Regions from separate parts of the Homo sapiens genome. Here region 2 is linked to region 1. The links are contacts of gene promoters, found by promoter capture Hi-C in human tissues and cell types (Jung and others, 2019). All regions are on one chromosome and are shown on one strand. Each heading gives the region's core, a stretch centred on a gene start or on the middle of the fragment in contact. The rest is flanking DNA. Distances are from core to core; before and after follow the strand shown. Region 1 holds the start of FBRS (fibrosin). Region 2 overlaps LOC124903678 (a long non-coding RNA gene).

The links. The method cuts DNA at HindIII sites, captures the fragments that hold promoters and counts their contacts. A contact is called where the count stands out against the background at its distance.
Region 2: a fragment that was not itself captured here is called in contact with the fragment with the promoter of FBRS in region 1 in 1 of the 25 tissues and cell types used here (H1 embryonic stem cells).

The regions. Positions count from the first base shown.
Region 1 is chr16:30,654,098-30,661,891 of GRCh38, reverse strand. It overlaps FBRS (fibrosin), which reads right to left and starts at 3,461. Exons shown (of 18, transcript NM_001105079.3): 1 at 1,915-3,461; 2 at 1,450-1,629; 3 at 677-712; 4 at 559-588. The coding sequence starts at 2,373. PRR14 (proline rich 14) reads right to left here. Exons shown (of 12, transcript NM_024031.5): 7 at 7,553-7,662; 8 at 6,678-7,263; 9 at 6,472-6,541; 10 at 6,299-6,390; 11 at 5,953-6,024; 12 at 5,479-5,860. The coding sequence ends at 5,581. RefSeq lists enhancers at 906-1,065, 2,746-3,195 and silencers at 2,276-2,325, 2,396-2,625, 3,446-3,625, 3,676-3,755, 3,786-4,045. The HindIII fragment of the contact is 17,048 bases long and covers 1-7,794 here.
Region 2 is chr16:30,612,001-30,616,366 of GRCh38, reverse strand. It overlaps LOC124903678 (a long non-coding RNA gene), which reads right to left. Exons shown (of 2, transcript XR_007065051.1): 2 at 194-1,115. Among named protein-coding and RNA genes, the nearest start is that of ZNF689, 3.8 kb to the right of the region's middle. RefSeq lists a silencer at 508-748. The HindIII fragment of the contact is 7,596 bases long and covers 1-4,366 here.

The DNA of each region.
Region 1 (7,794 bases), core at 2,212-4,711:
TTGAAACAAAAACAAGACACACATCAGGGAGTGCAAATTGAGTTACTTACATGGGCCCAATGGGTAGCGCATTAACTTCTAGGACATACTATCTCACAACAAGCAAATCGCCCCTAAGGATAAACTCAAATACACCTTTATGGGCTGAGTCCCTACACTGACTACAATGATTTAGTGTCCTCACTACTCTATCTGCGGTCTCTGCTCAGACTTGAATCTAGATCTTCATTCTAAGATGGGAAGAAGGCCCATCTCAGTGCCACAGCCACTCTGGGTTTCCGTGGAGAACCAGAAGTAGCTCAAGGGCTTTGGAAAGGATAGTATGCCAAAGCATGGACCCTCCATTCCTTGGTCAGCTAACCCCTAGTCACCAAAAGAAAAAATGACGCCATTTACCCTCCCAATCCACCCCCGTTCCTCCCAAAAACCTAATCCTGACTCAACCTAAGCCATGTTTCTCACTCAAGGGAAGGCTGTCTGCTGCACGCAGAAGACCTTTATGCTGCAGTCCCTTTTACAAGCAGTGACACTGCCCACCCAAGCTCTAGCCCCACTCACCCTCTCGTCCAGATCACTTTCCGCGTCACACTGGGGAGAAGGAAAGACAGAGGTGTCACGAGAGGGAAGAGGCCCAGGGTGGAGCAGGGAGGGGCCAGGACAGGTGGATAGCACTTACTATGTATCCAGCTTCCAGAGAGTGACGGGAGGACGCCTGAGGAAGACCAGAGTCCAGAGGTGAGGGAGGCGGCTGCTGAGGCAGCTGGGAAAGTCGCAGCTCCCAGCAGGGCGCTCATGGGCCTCCAGGATCTACTCTCAGCCTCTCCTTCCAGCTGCTTCTCCCGCCACTGCCCACCCGGGTCCCAGTGCTCTCACCATTCTCTAAATACGCCGGGTCCTCACGTCTTCATGCTCTTGCCCAAAACAACTTTTCCCCGTGTCTTTTCTTAGCAAACTTCTGACTATACTTCAGGACCTGACTAAGACATCCTAGGGGGCTTTCCCCAACCACAACTCTCCTCCCATCCCCCAGGCAGCACAAGCGGCTTCCTCATGTGGGTTTCTGTAGCATCTCTCCCCATCTTTGTCTTCTGTAGCTTCTCAAATTAAGGTCTAGGTGTTTGCTTGCTGGCTATTTCTTTTCTGCTGGACTGCCACCACCTCGAGGAAGGGCAGGAACCACAATTAATTTACGACCCAACTATATTCCTTTGACGCCTCTCTGAATTATCAAAACGTTTGAAGTAGACACAGAACCAGGCAAAAGGAGGTGCACCTGACTGTAGACAGGCCTTCGTCAGACCCGGATGAGTAAGGGCTCAAATTTGCCCTGCTTGCCTCTTTGCCCTTAGAAACTGGGGTCTCTGTTTACAAGGGGCAGTGGCGTTGCTGATGAAAAACGGGGCTGTGGGAAATACATTCTGCCTAAAGAGTTTTAAGGGACAACCTCACCTCTTTTCTTCTCCGCTTATTGGGCCATTTTCGGGCCCGATCCCCAGGGGGCCGGCCAGGCTCTCGATCAGAGCTGTCCCCTGGCTCCCCGGTGGCCCCACTGGAGCCCCCCCTTTTCCGCTTCCCAGAATGCTTCAGCCGATGTTCCAGTCGCTCTGGGGGCTGAAGAGATGCATCCTTCTGTGGAGGAGGAGGTGGGGCTGAGATAGATGGAAAAGGGCAAGCTCCCAACCCCTCTAGGGGTGACCAGGTTGCCGAAGTACCCCTCGGGCCGGGAAACCGGGTCCCCAGAGACGAGCTCTACCTCCTCCCACCCCAGGGCGGGGCAGAGGCCTGGCCAGAGGAGCCGGTTGCTCTGGTTTGGGGTGCCAGCATTCCCCCCTCAACTCCACCCACTAGGGGCACTGCCCCCTCCTTGCTGCCCCTCGGAAACCCCCAAAGTCTCCTAGCCCCATTAGGCCCCACCTGCAAGGCCTCGAGGGTGGCGAAGCTGGCGATGGCGAAGCCATCGATCAAGTCCTCCTCCTCCTCTTCCTCCTCCTCAGGCTCCTCCTCGGCTTCGCCGTCGTCTGCGCCCCCCTCCTCCTCCTCCTCCTCCTCTTCCTCCCCGCGGCTGCCCGAGCCGGCAGGCCGCTTCCGAGCTCGGGGTCGCGGGGGTCGAGGTCTCGGACGGGGCCGCCGGCGTCTCGGGCCCCCAGGCCGCTCTCCAGACGAAGCTGACGACCAAGGCCTGGCGGGCGGCGGCGGCGACGACGAGGACGAGGAGCCGCGCGGGGCGGCCAACAGGGCCCGGGGCGCGTCGCCGCCTGGACCTCGGCGGCGCCGCTGCTCCCGGTCTCGGTCTCGGCGCGAGCAGCGCCGCCGTCGGCGCTCCCCCTCTGCTGCCCAGCCCGGACCCGGGGCCGCGGCCGCTGCCGTCTCCATGGCGACCGCCCTCAGCGCCGCATCCGGAGGCGGCGGGGCCCGAAGCGGCCTGTCCGCAGGCCCGGGGTCGCAGGCGCGGCGCTGGCGGCTGCACAGTGACGAGAGGGCCACGGCTTCTCCTTTAAAGCCGGATCTGCTGGCCCCGAGCTTGCCCCAAGGCCACGGCCCGGGGAGCCGGCGCCGCCCCCGGGGCGACAAGCCCGAGGGCCCCCCCTGCGGGCTCGGCGGGGCCGCGACGGCGAAAACGGGGCGGCCGTCCCTTTAAGGCGAGGCCCCAAGTTGTCCAGCTCCCGGCCCCTTTAAGACGACCCGACAGTGTCCGGCGGCCTAGTGCGGTGGCCACCCCCTGCCAGGGGTCGATGCAAGTCTCCCCGAGGAAGAGGAAGGGCCACCCCTTTAAAAGGGGCCGAAAGCTCGCCCCGAAACGCAGACCTCCCCTTTAAAAGTGTCTCAAGTCCTCCGGCTCAAAGAGGCCACCCCTTTAAGGAGTCCAGGGTCCTTCTAACAGCAGGCCGTCCCTTTAAGGGCTCGGAGTTAGTTTCTAGTCCTCCACAAGCGGCCACTTCCCCTTTAAGTTGAATTTAAAAGACTTCTTGTGTGTGGGGGAGGAGGACGTAAAGAAAAACCCCACTCGCCCCAGTTCTCCCAACGGCACAGTTCTCAATTTGTCAGCGTCTGCTCGGCGGCTTCCCCTTTAAGGCTGGCGTTGCAGTCCGCCGAGTTCAGTGGCCACCCCTTTAAGGAGATTTAAAGGGGCCTCCTCCGGGCCCAGCTCCTCCAGCCTCCGCCTCCGGTCGCCATGAAAGGCGCGAGGCGGGGCGGGGCAGCGAGGCCAGCCCTCCAAAGCCCCGGATGTGAGGCAACGGTGACGGGTACAGCTCCCCTGTCCGCCGACATAAAAGTCTCTTCCTCCTTTCCTCCGTCTCTGTCCGACTTGGGCCTTAGGGGATCCGGAACGGCCGATGGGCAGCGGGGGAGCTCCAGCACAAACTCCTGTTGTCTCCTTTGGAGTCTTAGGGCGCTTCTCCGCCAGGACTTCCCTACCCCTCCTCCCTCTTCCTCCTCAGCCTACGCCTCCTTCCTCTCTCGGCCTCCTCCCACGCTCCGCCCCCTTCCCCTCACCCCCAACGGGCGCAGTCGTTGATAGGCTGGGAGGGCTACGTCAAGGTGAGGGGCGGAGCCAAACCCGAGGGAGTGGGTGCATGTAACCGCCCTCAAATCTTGGATTGGGTTACGTCGGATTGGCTCCGCCCTTCCCCCCAGTCTTGTGACTCGACTGGTTAGAAGTAGGTGTTTGGGGCGGTTACTACAGGGCCCCGCCTCTTCCTGCTGTTTGTTTATTGGCCGGTCTCCTGATGGCGTCGAGGCGAGGGGCGGAGACGCGGGGCCTGAGGCGTTGGGGGCGGTTGGCCGCCGGGGGGCGCGCGGCTGCAAGAGGTTCCGTTCCACAGCCAGTTAAGTCATCGCCGCCTTTCCGCCGCTCGGCGCGGCCCACAGACAGCCTGGCGTCTCGCGCACGCGCGTGGCGGCGCCGCCGTCAGGCTGGCTGCTTGCGAGTCGTTCCGCGGCCCGGGGTGGCCCGAGCGGCCGCGTGCTGTGCCTGCGCCTGCGCCGGCCGCACTAACAGGCAGCCGCGTCCCTTCCAGGCGCGGCTGCTGGCAGCGGTCCCGAGTGCTAGCAATTCGAAAACGCCTTGCACCTGCATGAGCGCTTCTCCGCGTTTGTGACTGCGTTTGGTAATAATTCCATGAAGGAGATGCTGTCAGCCCCATTTTACTGGGACGGAAAGGAATGCGCGCACAGACGGGCTGGTAGTCTCCTAGCCACGTCTATGTCAGCCACTGCCCTGTGATGCCTCTCAGTTATGAAAGATGCACCCCACTGCTCAATGTGACTGGCTTAAAAAAAAAGAGACAGCCATTTCTGGCCTTCGGTTGCCCGGGTTACCGTTTTAAAAGTGGACAGCGCGCTGACATGCCTGCCTTGCTTTCTCGTCCATAAAATGACTAATTCCCTGTCGCAGGGACATGTGCAGGTCAAGCACCTATGACAGTCGTCGTGAGTGCTTCATTATGGCCCATTACTCTTAGCTCTTTGTTTTGTTTTGTTTTTTTGGGGGGGACAGAGTCTGGCTGTGTTCCCTAAGCTGGAGTGCAGTGGTGCGATCTCAGCTCATTACAACCTCTGCCTCTCGGGTTCAAGTGAATTCTCCTGGCTCAGCCTCCTGAGTAGCTGGGATTACAGGTACACACCAAGACACCCAGCTAATATTTGTATTTTTAGTGGAGACGGGGTTTCACCATGTTGGCCAAGCTGGTCTCGAACTCCTAGGCTCCTGTGATCCACCTGCCTCGGCCTCCCAAAGCGCTGGGATTACAGGCGTAAGCCACCGCACCTGGCCTAGCCGTAGCTCTTGAATCCAGCAGCAGGTCCTGGCCTGCATGTTAGCAGGAATTCAGGGCCATCTTGATCTTCAAGGCCTTGACCCACTATAGGCCTTTCAGTCTCCTTGATATAAATGAATTGGGAGAACCCAGACCACGGTCTAGGGTCACAGTATCATCTGGCACTGATTCAGAAGTGTCCCTCCACACAGGAGAATCCTCTAAGCAAGAGAGTATCTCTAGGCCGGGCATGGTGGCTCATGCCTGTAATCCCAGCACTTAGGGAGGCCAAAGCAGGCGGATTTCCTGAGGTCAGATGTTCAAGACCATCCTGGCCAACATGGTGAAGCCCAGTTTCTACTAAAAATACAAAAATTAGCGGGTGTGGTAGCGCACGCCTGTAATCCCAGATACTTGGGAGGCTGAGGCAGGAGAATCGCTTGAATGAGGGAGACAGAGGTTGCAGTGAGCCAAGATCGTGCCATTGTACTCCAGCCTGAGTGACATGAGCGGAACTCCATCTATATCTATCATCTATCTATCTATCTATCTATCTATCTATCTATCTATCTATCTCAAGTGACCACTTCACCCCCTCCCTGTACTCTGTACCCAACCCCTGTCACCATCTCTAGCACCAGCCCCAGTTCCCAGACCTTTGGGGGTCAACGTAGAAACATCAGCCAAATCAATCTTAAACTCAGCTAGAGATACAAAAGAATCAGAAACATATCGAAAACTTTACTAGAAATATAGAGAAAAAAAAATAACTGCCTGGGAGGTTTCCTGTCCCTTCAGGATGGATGACCAACAGATGGGGCACCTAGGTCCAGTGGGGCTGCTCCCGATCTACTGTTTCTTCCTCCAGGAGCAAGGCATCTAGCTCCTCCAGCCGCTGCTGGAGCAGGGGGCCCACATCAGGGCTGGGGGCCACATTGGGAGGAACAGTCCTGCCCCCTGCAGCCCGGACCCCACGGGACGGTCTTCGTGATCGAGGAAGGCTGCTGTCCCGAAATTCCACAGCCCGCCGGAGCTTCCTTGAGCTGGTGAAAATCAGAGTCCCATTGCGCTCCCGGGGTTCCTCAAAGATGGTCTCAAAGGTCCTGAACAAGGCAGGGAGAGGAGCTGGTTTTATCAGGGTGCTCCACAGCTCCAGATTTCCCTCTGCCACCCTCTAGCCTTCCAAGTGTCTCACCTCCTGGTTGTGGGTGATTGGTAATTCTTGTTGGTGTAAATTTCTTCCAAGCTGAACTCCTTCTTGTTCAACCTGTGAGCAAAGAGCAGAGGCCACTGAGAAACCTTGGGCCAGTGGGGCCTGAAGGGACAGGTAAGGCCTGGTCTGTATTTCAGTTTCTGGGACATGTCAGGGCCAGGAGTGCTACATAAGGCAGACAGGCAATTTTGAGCACAAACCATCCCCACACCGAATTGAATCTTTCAGGCTGGACTGTGCTCCCTGAGGGGAGACAAAGCTATACTTCAGGGGACATAAGCCTGCATCTGTTTGGCCAAGATGGCTCAATGCCCAGTGAGCCCCTCACCTGATTGGTCGAGGCAGTCCCATTGGTGTAAGGTTTAGCTGAGGACGGGCTGGTGTTCTGCGTATTCTGAATCGAGAAACCTTTCCCATGGTCTGCAAAAATGGGGCAGAGGGTGAAAGAGTGACATGGGCTCAGGCCCCCACTAGTCTCTTCTACCCGATCTGAATGCCTACCTTGGTCTCAGGTTCTGAAAGCACCTGGTCCTTTGAGGCTCTTGGCTCCTTCCCTTTGGTTGAACCCAACCTGCCAAGAAGGTCAAGGCTCAGGGACAAACAGGATTCACTGCATTATCCCCCGTCTCCTGCCCACTGGATACTCAGGGAAGGAGGCTGGGACCAGGCTGCAGCCAGGCTTCAAGGGGGTTTTTTGAGAGCACTACCTGGGTTCTGCTGGTTCGGAGAAGGAAGTGGATGCCGTGGACGAGCAAGATGTGGTGAGAGAAGGGGAGGCTCCCACTCCTCCGAGAGGGAAGACCTCTTTCCGGAGACAGGGCCGAGGGGGTGGCGGGGCTCGGGCCATTTCCCCACCACCCACAGTGTGCCGCCGCGGCCGTGGTCGGCTTGGTTGGGGTGGAGCAGGTGGCCAGGTGCAGGTACCTGGGCCAGGGGGCCCCAGATCAGGGCAGGAGTAGCTTCGGCCCAGAGAGGGCTTAGGGAGAAGTGCTGGGGTATTGTGGTCCTGAGTTCGCCACTGGCGGATTGGGGGCCGGGGGCTGACAGACGCAGTGCCCTCAGCAGCCCCAGACTGCTCGGCCTCTGAGATGGCGATCTTCAACTCCAGCTTCATTGGGGGGGACGGGGGTGGGGGCTGTGGGGTTTTGTTGGGCGTGAGGAAGATGTCAGCAAAGCTCTCCAGCTTGGAGCGGACGGAACGGAAGAGCGGGGCCAAGCCCCAGGGACTGAGGCGGGGGCGTAAAAGGCTGGACGGTGGTGGGGTGGATGGGAGCTCCAGAGCAGGATCTGGGGCTGAGGAAAGGAGAGGGTCACAGGTGGATATTCCTTGGCTGCAGTGTCTCAGCCCCTCCCCACATGCTCAACTTTGTGCACAGGGGAATTAGCCCACCCTTAAAACACTAAGTTCTGCATTTAAGAATTGAACTTCAAGCCTCTGACATCAACATCCCATCTTTATATACCAAGCCCTGCCCTGGGAGGTGGCTTAAGCCCTATCCCCAACTCTGTACCTGACACTTCCAAGCTCAACTAGGATGTCCCAGACACCCAAGTCTCATCCGATCTCTACCCAAGTCCTTACCTGTTGGTGGGCTCTCCAGAGGGTCTGCAGGCAGAGCAGATGGCTGGAATGGGGGTTCTAGGTCCCCAGGTGGAGGCGTTGGCTGGCGAACTATCCTCATGGGCTCAGCTCTGGGGTGAAGGGCAAGGTAAAGGCTAGGGGAACTTCCAGGTATCCCACCTGAGCCAGCAACTCCCCTATCCCTTAAGGCTTCTTCTTTTTTTTTTTTTTTGAGACAGAGCCTTGCTCTGTGGCCCAGGCTG
Region 2 (4,366 bases), core at 1,831-4,330, 45 kb after region 1:
GAATAAGCAAACTCAAGCATTTCAGCCCTCTTTAAAATATTGGGCAGAATTCCAGCAACTTTTAGAGAGCCTTAACCCTTGGACCTACTTCAAACAGCACCTCAGTGTCTTTTGTGTAATTATTGGAAAAATGTTATTATGTTTCTGCTTTTTGTTCACAGTCTGTAAAATCAGCTGGACCACCAGCTGGCAATTGAGAGCTGCACAGCCTGCAATTACCTTTATTCAACTAATGCAAAAACAGAAAGGGGGAGATGTTGGAGGCCAAAAGAATGAGGGTCGTGACCAACTCAGTATACCACTGGAGGCTATATGAGCAAACAGCAAACTGTTCTCATGAATGCAGGATGTTGGCAAGCTGACAACTGCGTCTGCCACCAGAAGGAATGCTGAGGACAGTCACACACCAGGTGCAGTTGTTCCTTGTAGTTATCTATAGGAACATCTGGAGCCTGTTGTATAAAGAAAGCAATTATGTGAGCCTGTGCTAAATCAAGCAGCTGACCAACTACTACCTCTTAGTCCCTGTTGATTCTACCTAATAAATATGAAGGGCTGTAGAAGCTCAGGGCCCTTATTCCCTAGAAGCAAGGAGCCCCCGACACTTTCTTTAAAACAGATCCTTTTCTTTGTCTCCATTTCTGCGTTCGTCCTCCTTTGTTCAGTCCCGAACCGACAGCCACATTTGTGGGTCATGCAGTGTCTAATTCTCCCAGAGAGCTCACCTGGTCCAGCACCAGCTGCCCCCACACAGGGGACGAGCTCTGCAAGGGCTCCGACTGCAGCCACCTCTTCCACCTGAGGAGGGCGCTGTCCACGCACATATGCGGATGTGTGCACAGATGTGGGTGCCAGTTTGCATTCCCCTCCCTTGTGGCCACCACCAGGCACATGCACTTGGGTGAGCACTGCCACCACTGCCTACAGTGTGGCACTCCCCTTGCTGACTGGGAAACTTGCTCCAGCACCAGCTTATCCATGCAGGAGAGAAGCCCTACTGGTGCTTTGACTGTGTGTGGTGCGTGCACCAAAGAGGCTCCCTTGGCCATTCATAGGCACACGCATACAGGTGAGAAGCCTCAGTCCTGCTCTGAGTGTGGCATCTGCTTCTCCTGCTAAAAAAAAGAAAAAAAGAAATAAAAGCTTGGCTTTTCCCTTTTTAGATGGAGTCTCACTTTGTCCCCTAGGCTGGAGTGCAGTGATGTGATCTCAGCTCACTGCAACCTCTGCCTCCCATGTCCAAGCGATTCTCCTGCCTCAGCCTCCCAAGTAGCTGGGATTACAGGCATGTGCCACCACACCCGCCTAATTTTTTTGTATTTAGTAGAGAGGGAGTTTCACCATGTTGGTCAGGCTGGTCTTGAACTCCTGACCTCAGGTGATTTGCCCTCCTCAGCCTCCCAAAGTGCTGGGATTATAGGCACGAACCATCGTGCCTGGCCTGACTTTTCTTTTCTTTTTTGAGATGGAGTTTCACTCTTGTTGCCCAGGCTGGAGTGCAATGGTGCAATCTGGGCTCACTGCAACCTCAGCCTCCCCGGTTCAAGCGATTCTCCTGCCTCAGCCTCCTAAGTAGCTGGGATTACAGGCATGCACCACCACTCTCGGCTAATTTTTTGTATTTAGTAGAGACAGGGTTTCACCATGTGGGTCAGGCTGGTCTTGAACTCCTGACCTCAGGCAATCCACCCGCCTCAGCCTCCTGAAGTGCTGGGATGGATTACAGGTGTGAGCCACCACGCCCAGCTGACCTGACTTTTCTTAACAGATTCATGCAGCCCAGGTTTTTTGTTTGTTTGTTTGTTTTTGTTCTATTCATTTAAACACAGAGTCTCAATCTGTTGACCACGCTGGAGCGCAGTGGTGTAATAATCATAGTTAACTGCAGCCTTGAACTCTTGGGCTCAAGTCATCCTCTCGCCTTAGCCTCCCAAAGGGCTGGGACTACAGGCATGAGCCACCATGCCCACACGCCCAGCCACAATTAGGAGGCTAGAGCTCCCGCCTTTTTTTTTTGTTGTTGTTGTTGTTTTTGTTTTTTGAGACAGGATCTCATTCTTTCGCCCAGGCTGGAGTGCAGTGGTGCAATCTTGGCTACTGTAGCCTTGACCTCCCAAGTCTCAATCGATCCCCCCACCTCAGCTTCCCAAGTAGCTGGGACTATAAGTGCCCGACACCATGCCTAGTTAATTTTTGTATTTTTTGTAGAGAAAGGGTTTTGCCATGGTGGCCAGGCTGGTCTTGAACTCCTGGGCTCAAGCAATCCCCCCACCTCGGCCTCCCAAAGTGCTGGGATTATAGGTGTGAGCCACCACACCTAGCCTGTAACTGTAGTTTTTTTTCCACCACCTCTGTTCAAACATCTCCTTCCTCTGAATATCTCACTGCTGCCTCCTCATCCTCCTCCTCCTTCTTCTTTCTTCTCCTTCCTCTTTTTTTTTTTTTTTTTTGAGACGAGTCTCGCTCGGTCGAAAGCTCCGCCTCCCGGGTTCACGCCATTCTCCTGCCTCAGCCTCCTGAGTAGCTGGGACTACAGAAGCCCACCACCATGCCTGGCTAATTTTTTATATTTTTAGTAGAGACGGGGTTTCACCGTGTTAGCCAGGATGGTCTTGATCTCCTGACCTAGTGATCTGCCCGCCTCGGCCTCCCAAAGTGCTGGGATTACAGGCGTGAGCCACCAAGCCCAGCCTTTTTTTTTTTTTTTTTTTTTGAGACTTAGTCTTACTCTGTCACCCAGGCTGGAGTGCAGTGGCACCATCTTGGATCACTGCAACCTCCGCCTTCCAGTTTCAAACAATTCTCTTCGGCTGGGCCTGGTGGCTCATGTCTGTAATCCCAGCACTTTGGGAGGTCGAGGCGGACAGATCAGCTGAGGTCAGGAGTTCAAGACCAGCCTGACCAACATGAAGAAACCCCATCTCTACTAAAAATACAAAATTAGCTGGGTGTAGTGGCGCATGCCTGTAATCCCAGCTACTCGGGAGGCTGAGGCAGGAGAATCGTTTGAATCCGGGAGGCGGAGGTTGTGGTGAGCCGAGATTGCTCCATTGCACTCAGCCTGGGGAACAAGAGCAAAACTCCGTCTCAAAACAAAACAAAACAAAACAAAACAGAAAACAATTCTCATGCCTCAGCCTCCCAAGTAGCAGGGACTATAGGCATGTGCCACCAAGCCCGGCTAATTTTTGTATTTTTAGTAGAGACAGGGTTTTGCCATGTTGGCCAGGCTGGTCTTGAACTCCTGGCCTCACGTGATCCACCCACCTCGGCCTCCCAAACTGCTGGGATTACAGGTGTGAGCCACTGCTCCCGGCCTCATTGCCTTCTAATTTTGTGACTTTTCCTGCCACATTGTTTGTCTTTATTCCTTGAAAGCTTTGAGGTTAGTGTTTTGCCCATAGTATATGCTTTACAATATTGATTAAAGGGTTAGAGAGATAGATGTGCATGTCACTAGCTAAGAGACATGGCAAATGGTGTATTCTCCTGCTCGCAGGACCCTTGGGGGTGGCATTGAGCTGGTGAAACTCTGCAGTATAACACATACATAGAAGTAGGGGCTAGGGCGGGCGTGGTGGCTCATGCCTGTAATCCCAGCACTTTGGGAGGCAGAGGTGGTTGGATCATGAGGTCAGGAGTTCGAGACCAGCCTGGCCAAGATGGTGAAATCCCGTCTCTACTAAAAATACAAAAATTAGCCGAGCAAAGTGGCGGGTGCCTGTAATCTCAGCTACTCGGGAGGCTGAGGCAGGAGAATCACTTGAACCCGGGAGGCCAAGGTTGCAGTGAGCCGAGTTTGCACCACTGCACTCTAGCCTGGGCAACAGAGCAAGACTCCGTCTAAAAAAAAAAAAAAAAAGGGCTGGGCACAGTGGCTCACGCCTGTAATCCCAGCACTTTGGGAGGCTGAGACGGGTGGATCACGAGGTCAGGAGATCAAGACCATCCTGGCTAACATGGTGAAACCCCGTCTCTACTAAAAATACAAAAAATTAGCTGGGCGTGGTGGCGGGCGCCTGTAGTCCCAGCTACCCGGGAGGCTGAGGCAGGAGAATGGCGTGAGCCCGGGAGGCGGAGCTTGCAGTGAGCCGAGATGGCGCCACTGCCCTCCAGCCTGGGTGACAGAGCGAGACTCCGTCTCAAAAAAAAAAAAAAAAAAAAAATGTGGAGGCTAATGGGGTGGGTGCTGGCTTGTTCCATCAGCAATTTTCAGTTCAGTGCCTTTCACATACATGCTTGTATCATTCTGTTATGATTCATTGTGAATTTATATGCTTTACTAGACTGTAAGCTCCATTCAAAGCATGGCCTATGACTTATTTATGTACGCTCTCCCAATTGCCTAGCACTATGCTTTGTACGT